Regions from separate parts of the Homo sapiens genome. Here region 1 is linked to region 2. Evidence: promoter capture Hi-C in 16 types of primary human blood cells and fetal thymus (Javierre and others, 2016). All regions are on one chromosome and are shown on one strand. Each heading gives the region's core, a stretch centred on a gene start or on the middle of the fragment in contact. The rest is flanking DNA. Distances are from core to core; before and after follow the strand shown. Region 1 overlaps LOC112268030 (a long non-coding RNA gene). Region 2 holds the start of RAD21-AS1 (RAD21 antisense RNA 1).

What was found. The method cuts DNA at HindIII sites, captures the fragments that hold promoters and counts their contacts. A CHiCAGO score of 5 or more calls a contact.
Region 1: a fragment that was not itself captured here is called in contact with the fragment with the promoter of RAD21-AS1 in region 2 in 3 of 17 cell types (naive CD4 T cells, total B cells and total CD8 T cells); the score reaches 6.4 in naive CD4 T cells.

The regions. Positions count from the first base shown.
Region 1 is chr8:116,786,873-116,792,652 of GRCh38, forward strand. The region is part of intron 2 of LOC112268030 (a long non-coding RNA gene); the gene reads left to right. Among named protein-coding and RNA genes, the nearest start is that of UTP23, 23 kb to the left of the region's middle. The HindIII fragment of the contact is 316 bases long and covers 3,370-3,685 here.
Region 2 is chr8:116,870,830-116,876,056 of GRCh38, forward strand. RAD21-AS1 (RAD21 antisense RNA 1) reads left to right here and starts at 3,595. Exons shown (of 2, transcript NR_033886.1): 1 at 3,595-4,156; 2 at 4,592-5,227. RAD21 (RAD21 cohesin complex component) reads right to left here and starts at 3,947. Exons shown (of 14, transcript NM_006265.3): 1 at 3,782-3,947. It overlaps MIR3610 (microRNA 3610), which reads right to left and starts at 3,971; the gene lies at 3,899-3,971. RefSeq lists silencers at 3,255-3,304, 3,465-3,784 and an enhancer at 3,895-3,944. The HindIII fragment of the contact is 5,133 bases long and covers 1,594-5,227 here.

The DNA.
Region 1 (5,780 bases), core at 2,278-4,777, 84 kb before region 2:
ATATGAAGACAATATCTGTTATGGTCTGAATGTTTGTGTCCCCTTCAAATTCACATGTTGAAACCTAACCATCATTGTGCTGGTATTAGGAGGTGAGACCAGTGGGAAGTGATTAGGTCACGAGGGCAGAACCCTCATGAATGGGACTAGTACCCTTGTAAAAAAGGCCCCAGAGAGCTGCCTTGCCCCTTCTAGCATGCAAGGACACAGTGAGAAGACGCCATCTATAAACTAGGAAGCAAGCCCTCACCAGACACCAAATCTGCGGGCATCTTGATCTTGCACTTTGCAGCCTCCAGAACTGTGAGAAATAAATTTCTGTTGTTTGGAAGCCACCCAGTTTATGATATTTTTAAATGGCAAGCCAAATGGACTCAGACAATACCCAACATCCAAATAAAGAACTTTATAATTTATCTTCATTTGCTGCTGCTCATCCCTCTTATTTCTTTCATCTGACTTTGGTCTCCAGGTAAAATGAACAGAAAATGGGCATAAATTGAGGTATCCTATGACAAATGCATTTGCTTTTTCTATAGAATTACATCCTAAAAAATTTGAAAATTCACTTTCTCCTACGACTACCTTTTTTTTTTTTTTTTTTTTTTGAGGTGGAGTCTCGCTCTGTCACCCAGGCTAGAGTGCAGTGGCGCGATCTCGGCTCACTGCAAGCTCCGCCTCCCGGGTTCATGCCATTCTCCTGCCTCAGCCTCCCGAGTAGCTGGTACTACAGGCGCCTGCCACCACGCCTGGCTAATTTTTTTGTATTTTCAGTAGAGATGGAGTTTCACTGTGTTAGCCAGGACGGTCTCGATCTCCTGACCTCGTGATCCTCCTGTCTCGGCCTCCCAAAGTGCTGGGATTACAGGTGTGAGCCACCGTGCCCGGCCTCTTAAGACTACCTTAGAAAGTAGATTGCAAAAAAACTTTAAACATGTATGTATTTAAAAATTTAATAACAAAACCCCCCAAATTCTGTCATGATCTTGATCATTAGAAAGATTTATGTAATTGGAGAATTTCAGAAATATCTTGGCGGCAGAACTAGATGCCTTTTGAGGTTCAATTTAATTCTAACATCCCGTTAAAATTTAATGTACAATATGTAGAGAAGGACAGCAACTACACACTGTACACCCTAAGACTGATTTTTAAAAAAGCAACATCAACTTCAACATCCAAGTATCCTATACTTTACACAGTGCCTGGTATGTAATAGTTGCTTAATGTTTGCTGAATGACAGTGTGATCAAAGGAGTGTTGTTACATCTGTCACTCTGAGGTCCTTCTGGTGATGTTGCCATATCTTATAACATCAACAAATGTTTTCTTAAAAATGAAATTTTCAGGTGCATTGGCTCACACCTGTAATCCCAACATTTTGGGAGGCTGAAGTGGGAGAATTGCTTGAGGCCAAGAGTTCGACACCAGCCTGGGCAACACAGTGAGACACCATCTCTACCAAAAAAATTAAAAAATTAGCTAGTCATGGTGGTGTGTGCCTTTAGTCCTAGCTATTCCCAGGAGTTTGAGGTTGCAGGGAGTATGATTGTGCCACTGCACTCCAGCCTGGGTGGCAGAGCAAGACTCGGTCTCTATTTTTAAAAAAAGAAAGAAAGAAAAATTTGCCTTCACTGCCAGTTCTACATTGTGGAGGATACTTTGTTTTGGCCCCTAGAGGGAGCGCTAGCCTCCTCTATAAATCTCATCCTCAGCACTCTCCTCCAGGGTTTTCTTACGCTACATTAAAAGAGAATTGAGAAGAAACTGTTAAGGTCAAAAACGTTTCATGGGCATGTTTGTAGGAGCGTGGATCAATCCAGTGAGTGTGGATCACTGAAATCAATATGTTGAATGGATATCTGTGCTCTCACGTTCATTACAACATTCTTCAGAATCCCAAATATACAATCAACCTGTGTTCATCAACAGAGATGGATGAAGAAAATGTGGTATATATGAACAATAGAATACTATTCCACCTAAACAGGGAGAAATTCTGTCATTTGTGATAACGTGGATAAATCTGGAGGACATTATGCTAAGCGAAATAAGCCAGGTACAGAAAGACAAATACCTCTGACCTCACTTATATGTGGAATCTAAAAAAGTCAAACTCACAAAAGTAGAAACTAGAATGCTGATTACCAGAGGCTAGGGAGGTGGAGAAGGAGGAAATTGGGAGATGTTGATCACAAAATACAAAGTTTGAACAAAAAAAAAAAAAAAGAAAAAATACAAAATTTCGACAGACAGGAGGAATAGGTTTTGAGATCTATTGCACTATTGATTATAGTCAATAATAATGTATTCTATATTTCAAAATAACTGAGTAAATTTCAAATGTATCACCATAAAAATGATAGGTAAGTGAGGTGATGGATATGTTATTTGGCATGATTTATCATTCCACAAAATGTACATATATTGAAACATCGCATTGTATCCCATAACTGTATGTAATTATGATATGTCAATGAAAAATAATATTACTAATAAAAATTTTAATTTTCAGTTGAAAATTAATTAATTAAAAAATAGCACAATGATCAAAATATATTGGTTCTTATTTTCTCTGTATCACAGATGAGAAAACTAAGGCTCAGACAGCTCAAATGTTTGCCCACATTTAAACCAATAACAAGTGACAGAGCTGGGGCTTGAACTGAAATCTTTAAATCTAAGTAATTTGGGGGGTCTGGGTAAGGGACAGGGATGGAATCGCTATGACAGGATGAGACTAAAATATTTAGATGTCATCTACAGTGAGATTTGTACCTTCACTCTGGCGATTCACCATCCTTTGAGAAGGAATTTGACTTTTGGAAACAGCCTAAATAAATTTATAATCAATTCTGGAGAATAAAGTGTTTTGGGGAAAAATGAAACAGCAAGTCAAAATAATATTTCTTGTTCTCTTGTGTGCTTTTGAAACTTGTTCTGAAGATAATTTCAAATTTGGAAGGAATTTTATGCAGTGTCAGCATTATTGAAAAATGCACTCTTTCCCGAGGTACTACTTTGAAAGATAACATTTGCTTGGTGTTTGCTCATATATGTGTGTCTGTATTCATTTCCTGAACACCTACATGTGCTGGGATTCAGTGATGAATAAGATACAGTCTTCCCTCATGAAGTTTGTGATCCACTTGGGGAGGCAGGTAGGTAAATAGTGACTTTTATTATGTAGAGATTAGTGGTATAATAAAACTCCTTCCAGCCGTAAAATCACTGGATTGTATAATATGTAACATCAGTCTAAATTCTTTTTTTTTTGACACCAGGCAAGATAAACTATAGATGGGTAAATAAATACATTTATTTACATATAGTTTTCAAAGAGTCATTCTGCCTGAGAGCTTTGGGAAAAGCTTGACAGGGAGGTGACATTTGATCTAGGGCTCAAGGTAATTTTATAAAAATGTGCACCAGAGACAAAGAGGTATTCAATAAATATTTCTTAAATGAACCAACGACATAAGGAAGCACCAGTTTTTCTTGAGATCTGTATATATAGTGTTGTGCCTGTCTAAAAGCTGACCGTCCTATTTAAATTATGTCCATTCTGGTAGAAAAAGCCCTTTTGAAGTCGTCTTATATAGTTGGCAGAGTTGGCTAACTGAATGAATAAAAAATGTAACATAACCAAATATAGGCCAAATAAATTTATGTTGCTCAACACTAAAGCTTTGACAGGTACAATCAATGTGCAGCAGCCTGATTTCTTGTCTCAGCTGTTTCATTAAACCAGCCCTGAGATCTTCCTAGCATTAGGCCACAGCTTTCAGGGTCTTTATTCTTTCCTAGGTTGCATATTCTGTATTTGCTCAAGATTAACTGTCTTTCAGTGTTATGTTTCTGAATATATTTAGGCACTCCCTTGTGAAGTCACAAGGATGGGAACAAAGCAAGAGCTGGACCCCACTTTTCCTCGTTTTTTTTTTTTTTTTTTTTTTGACAGGCTCTTGCTATGTCACCCATACTGGAGTCCAATGGTGCAGTCATGGCTCACTGCAACCTTGAGCTCCTGGTCTCAAAGTGATCCTCCTATCTCAGTCTCCCCAGTAGCTGGGACTACAGGCACACACTGCCATGCTTGGCTTTTTTTTTTTTTTTTTTCAGAGATGGTATCTCGCTGTGTCACTTGGGCTGGTCTCCAACTCCAGGGCTTAAGTGATCCTCTTGCCTTGGCCTCCCAAAGTGCTGGGATTACAGGTGGGAGCCACCAAACTGAACCTACTTTTCCTCCTTCCCACCAGTGATGTGCGGGCATCACTACAGTAGGCAGAACTGCTCTGCTGTGGCCAGCTCTGCAGTTCCAGGGGGGCCAGTGTTTCTCCAGAGTGGTGCATGGACCCCTGCCTCAGCGTTACTTGGACCATTGCTTGCTTAACATGCAGATTCCTGGGCCCCACTTAAACCAATAAAATAGAAACCTTTGTAGATGAGACCTATAATGTATCTTTATTTTTCATAGGTTTTTGGGGAACAGGTGGTATTTCGTTACATGAGTATGTTCTTTAGTGGTGATTTGTGAGATTTTGGTGTACCCATCACCTAAGCAGTGTACACACAACCCAATTTGAAGCCTTTTATCCCTCACCCCCTTCCCACCCTTTCCCCCAGAGTCCCCAAAGTCCGTCGTATCATTCTTATGCCTTTGCATCCTCATAGCTTAGCTCCCACTTATGAATGAGAACATATGAGGTTTGGTTTTCCATTCCTGAGTTACTTCACTTAGAATAATAGTCTCCAATCCCATCCAGGTTTCTGGGAATGCCATTAATTCATTCCTTTTTATGGCTGAGTAATATTCCATCACATACACACTACAGTTTCTTTATCCACTTGTTGGTTGATGGGCATTTTGGGCTTGTTCTATATTTTTGCAATTGCGATTGTGCTGCTATAAACATGCGTGTGCAAGTATTTTTTTGTATAATGACTTCTTTCCTAAAATGTATCTTTAACAAACACCAGGTGACTATGATTCTTGCATACCCTGAAGTTAAAAATCTGTGAAGAGAGAAAAAACAAAGGAGATTCTTACTTTTTTTCTGTGGTTTCTAGTTTTCTTGGGAAATGACTGATTATATGTAGTCCCCTCCTAGGGACCACCCTGGACTTCAGCCTTCTTCTCACGTAACAATCCACTGGCGCGATTATTATTAACTTGTTTACTAATGACAAGTTGGAGTACAAGGGACTGAGTGCTCTCAAAATTCACATGTAGCTCTAGGCCTTTACAACTGGAGAGTCTAATTTGAGGGGTGTTAAGCGATAATTCTGAATGACTTGCCTGCAGAGGAAGAGGTACAGAGGACATGGCTGAAATCCTGAGGGCCAAAGATAGTGGCACCTCCAATGCGTGAGGGAGACCACGCTGCCAGCTCTTGAGAGATGGTATTTTTGCTTGTTTTGAAGCTTTTCTCTCTCTTTCTTTTTTTTTTTTTTTTTTTTGGCATAAAAAGTATTACATATTTATAGGAAAAATTAAAACACAGAAATGTGAATTGGAAAATGAAAGTCAATGGCTTAAATACCCTCAATAGAGGAGTGGTTAAATGAAATGGGGCACATCTGTCTTTTATAGAATTCTATATAGCCATTAAAAAGATTAGATACACGTATTGACCAGGCGCGGTGGCTCATGCTTGTAATCTCAGCTCTTTGGGAGGCCAAGGCGGGCGGAATACCTGAGGTCAGGAGTTTGAGACCAGCCTGGCCAACATGGTGAAACCCCATCTCTACTAAAACTACAAAAATTAGCTGGGCATGGT
Region 2 (5,227 bases), core at 2,345-4,844:
AATTGGCATATGTAAAAAATTTTAGACGTTTTAAAAATTAAAACTACTGGCATTTTTCAACAGGTGTCAGTAGCTCCTGGCCAGCACTTCAGCTGCTGGTCAGAGCACCGTGCCTAAAATATCCCAGCTATGCAGAGGCAGAGATTCCTAAACAGAAGCCTGTTTGGCATAGGATGGGGCTAAGGAAGGCAGAGTGATGCTAAAATTAATGTGGGAAACAATTAGCAAGAGGAAATCACTCTAATAACTAAAGGAAGCCAAAGGAGCAGTGGTGGATCGACTCCTGGTGTATATCTGAATAAGGAGAAAGTGTAATTATAATTGCCTTTTAAGCCTATTTTTTTTTCCTTGATAATACCAAACTTCATCCAATCTTTAAAAAAGTCGATTAATCTGTTTAGATTTTGAAGATTCTATATTCTGCTAAATCCTTTATGAAAACCCTGTGCAGAAAATCTGCATTTGATACCAGAGCACAACTTAGCATTTCATGATTTGAGAATCATTTTTTTCTAAAGCGGCAAGCAGTTTTTTTCAATTGACCCTAAAAAATTAAAGTCTGATGTGAAACAGCAGAAAGATTGCTATTTTAGAACATATTCAAGAATACAAAAAATGGCAATTTAAGACTGTTTCAAAGAATCAAACTGAGGCTCATGCTTCTAGGATAGTATCAGTCATTACCAATATTTCACTCATTAGAAAGCATGGCAGGACTGCGGTTGTGTAAATTGGTACTGTCCTCTCTGAAGGACAATATGACAACATTTTATAAAAATTTCACTTACACTTTCTAGCCAGAACTTGCACTTTCAGTAATCAATACAAAAGATATACTTGGAGATGCATATTACTAAAGACAAAACCAAAAAACCAAACACGAAAAAATCCTAAGAAAACTTACTAAGCACTACGTGTTTTATGTATCCAACCTCTTCATGACTGTCCTACAGAAGTAAATTACTGGCCCATTTTAGAGATGGAGAAAACAGATGAAGATAAGTAAATGTCACTAGTATTTAATGGAAGTGGAACTTGAACTTCAGAATCCACACTTCTAACTACAACACTATGCTGCCTTGCCAGAGCAGAACAGAACATTCGAAATAACCTACTTGGCCATCAATAAGTGATATGAAAAATTAATAAACCCAAACAACGGAATATAGTCGGTCCTCCTTATCCATGGCTTCTTGCATCCATGGACTAAACCAACCCAGGATCAAAAATTGTTGGAGGGGGGGACAAAAAAACACAATAATAAAAAATACTACTAATAAAAAACTATAACAACTATATTAACTATTAACATAGCATTTACATTGTAATATCATAAATGGAGATGATTTGAAGTATATGGGATGTTAGTAGGTTATATGCAAATACTACACTATTTCATATAAGCGACTTGAGCATTCGTGGTTTTGGTTCTGGAACCAATTCCCCTTTAATATCAAGGGACAATTGTACAGTACAACTTTAAACAAGAATACAACATTTGTACTAACATGGAAAATCTCCAGGTTAAGTGCAAAAAAGTTGGAGTTTTAAAAAAGAATGCTCTTTCTCTATATATTTACGAGTTCTTGAATAAGCTTAAAATACCTGTGGCGTACACATGAAACTGGTGATACTGGTTACCTCTGGAAAGTAGGTATGCAGGGCAAGTGAGGCCTACCTTTTTGTACTGTTTGATATATATATATACATACACACACACACACACACACACACACATATTTTAACTCGGGACATAAATGTACACCACCTATTCAAAGTAAAAACTACTATCTCAGAAGTAAAGACATAATCCTGCTATTGTCATTAACTAGCAGTTAAGCTGCCTAACCTTTATGCAGTTCAGTTTCCCTACTATGAAAACCTGAAAGGTTGAAATCTGGTGGTTTACCTAACCTTTGAAAACGTCAATACCTAACTCAGATCAGAACGGAGCTACCTCTTCAGGGGAGTAGGGGGAAGGATCTCTGAAGATATTTCTAACCCTGCACACTAGAAATCTCCTCTGTTTTGGTTCTAACATCCTTTGACCAAGAGTTTTACAATCAGACAGTCGTAGGTTCAAATTAAGCTCCCTCTTTGCTCAGTTGTTTTGTAACGGTGAATAAGTTACTTCTCAACTATAAACTGGGATAATATTCATCAAAAAAGATTATGAAAATTAAATACAAGGGCACACCTAACATAGTGCCACTGCTGATGCGAAAAGTAACTCTGAAGACAATCTTGCAGCAAAACATTAACCAGCCAGTATAATCATGCCTAACAACTCTGGTTTGACATTTAAACTAAAAACACAACCTTATTTCTCAAGAATTAGAAAATTTCCATTCTGTACCAAACTGTAAAAGCGTTTCTTAGAATTTGTATGTTTCACAAAATAATTCACCAGAAATTCTTTTGTAATTCTGACTTGTGTATAAAAAAAAGCACTATGTCTATTAGTTATGCACTGCTGTCACCTCAACTATACAAACTGTTAACTTATTTGAAGATCAGATATGGCGTATGTCCTCATCAATGCCTTTCCAAAAATAATTAGTTGCCTCCGACATTAACAAAGGTATTTAATGACTTCACGATTTGAGAAACCTTCTCCTGCCTGTCTCCAAAATTCTATAGACTCGCACTGCCCGCTGGCATTTACACCCAATTTAAGAAAATAGAAATTTTTGCCTGAAAACCAATTACTCTTCTAACCAGTATAATGACAACAAAGATTAACTTTCCCTTGCAAAAAGAAGCCGATAAACACAAGCCTTTCCCAGAAACTCTTCGCACAAACGCTGTTTTTTTTTTCACGCTGAAGACACTAACAAATCAGAGTGACCAAGTAAATCCCCCAGGGTTTCCCTCTTACAAATTTGAAGAAGGCCGCTAAGTCTGGCAGCACAACCCGACAGTGTCACCCCACACTATCAAAGCGGATCATTCGCAAAAAGCCTTTTTCAGCGACGAAAAGGGCATCAAGCATTTATCAGAAACACACACCTCCCCCAGAGCGTCTCTACAACACCCGATATCCTTAATCACTTTAAAGAATGATCAGAAAAGTTCAGGGGAAAACCAATTATGCAAATATCCTTGGAAAAAGAAGCAACTTCCCTCCGTCTCTTTTTCCACGCGTCTGTGAAATATTCAGCATTCCCAACGTAAAAATTATCTTTTTAAAACGGGAGGGCAGCAGCAGTCACTGGCCGAGGGGCACCCGCCGACCCCCCGCCCCACCCCGCCCAGCCCCACCAGCTCCGCACTTTCTTGAGCCCCGCACCCGAGTTCGGCGGAAGGTTGCTGCTCCCGGGGCTGGCACCGCGGGCGCCGGGCCCGCCACCGCCTCCTCCCAGACAGCCATTTTTACCCGCGGAGTAGGCGGCCCGGTCCCCAGAGCGGGCTCGTTCAAACCTCCTCCCCTCCCTCCGCAGCCCAGGGTTTCCCCGGCCTCCTGGGGGACGTGAGATGGACCTGCAGGGTAACAGCCTTTGTAGATCTCAGAATGGATCAGAATCATTTGTTACCGAACAAGCGATGATGCGGGCCCAAGCTGCATGGGTCCGGGCCGAGGGCGGGCCCGGGGCGAAGGGGGCTGGGCGGGTGGCGCCGCCGCTTGGGCGCCGGGAGGGTGGCAGCACGCGTGGGCGCGGCGAGGGCTGCCTTCTCCCTCGCCCTCCCGCCCCCAGGAGTCCGGCTCCCCGACGGCAGAGCGGCGGGGAAAGGGTGGGGGGAGGGAGCTGGAGGAAAAGAAGGGGTCGGCCGAGTCTCTTACCTTGCTCTCCGCTGGGAGTTGGGCGGGCTGGGTGGCCCGGGGAGGGGAAAAGGGTCGGGGGAGGGGGTGGGGAAAGGGGGGAGCCCTTGCGAGGTGTAGCTTCCGAGCAGCTCCCGCCGCCGCCACAGCCGGCGCCTCCTTTCCGATTCACTCAAACAAACAAGATGGCTGCCGTTACGCCGCGGCTCTTCCTGCCGCCCAAATCCTCGGTTCAAATCGGCAGGATGTTTACGGTCAAAATGGTACCTGTGCGCCTGCGCAGCCAGCCCAAGCCCCCCCCTCCCCCCAGAAGGAGCGGCGCAGGCGCAATGACTATTTCCTTTTCTTTGGAACCCGCCCTCTGTTTGTGGAGTCCACAACTGAGCAAGCGCAAAGGTGATTCTCTTGCGAGGGTCTTTGAGAGTTGCGGTGTTAGCCAATAGCGTAAGATAGCGCACGCGCAGTGCTTTCCAGTGCGGTGAATATTTGCGTTTAGCTTTATTCTTGTGCTTGTTTTAAAGAAAAAAGCTGTCGTGGTGCAATTTTGTGTGCCCCCACCAAAAAATTCATTTTATGGCTCTATAGGGATGAAAGTAACATAAAAACCTCAAACTAATTCCATAAAATATAGAGGTTCATTTATTCAGTCAACCTATATTATAGAGGGTCTTCTGTTTGCTACACGTTGGGCTCTGGATATAATGATTAATATAACAGAGATAATAACTGCCTTTTGGAAATTTTCAGTATTGCTTGGGAGGAATCTTAAAATTTCTTATCTTAAAAGACTTACTTGTACCACGAAGAAATTTACTTTTGTTTTTATTGTAGAGATCTTTCCAGTGATGAAAGAAATTGAAGAGGACACACAAAAATGGAAATATATTCCATGTTCATGGATTGGAAGAATCAATATTGTTAAAATTTCCATACTACCCAGAGCAATCTACAGATTCAATGTAATCCCTATCAAAATATCAATGACATTCTTCACAGAAAGAGGAAAAAAATCCTAAAATTTATATGGAACCACAATAAGACCAAGAATAGCCAAAGCAATCCTGAGCAAAAGAATAAAGCTGGAGGCATCACATTACCTGACTTCAAATTATACTACAAAGTGATAGTAAACAAAACAGCATGGTGCTGGCATAAAAACAGACACATAGACTAACGGAACAGAATAGAGGACCTATAAATAAATCAATACATATACAGTCAACTAATTTCTGACAAAGCTGCCAAGAACATACGTTGGGAAAAGGATGGTCTCTTCCAAAAATTGTTCTGGAAAAACTAGATAACTATATGTAGAAGAATGAAACAGATCACTATCTTTTGCCATATTAAAAAAATCAAAACAAAATGGCTTGAAGACTGGAATCTAAGATTTGAAACTATTGAAACTACTAGAAGAAAACGTTAGGGAAATGCTCCAGAACCAAATATTTCTTAGTAAGACCTTAA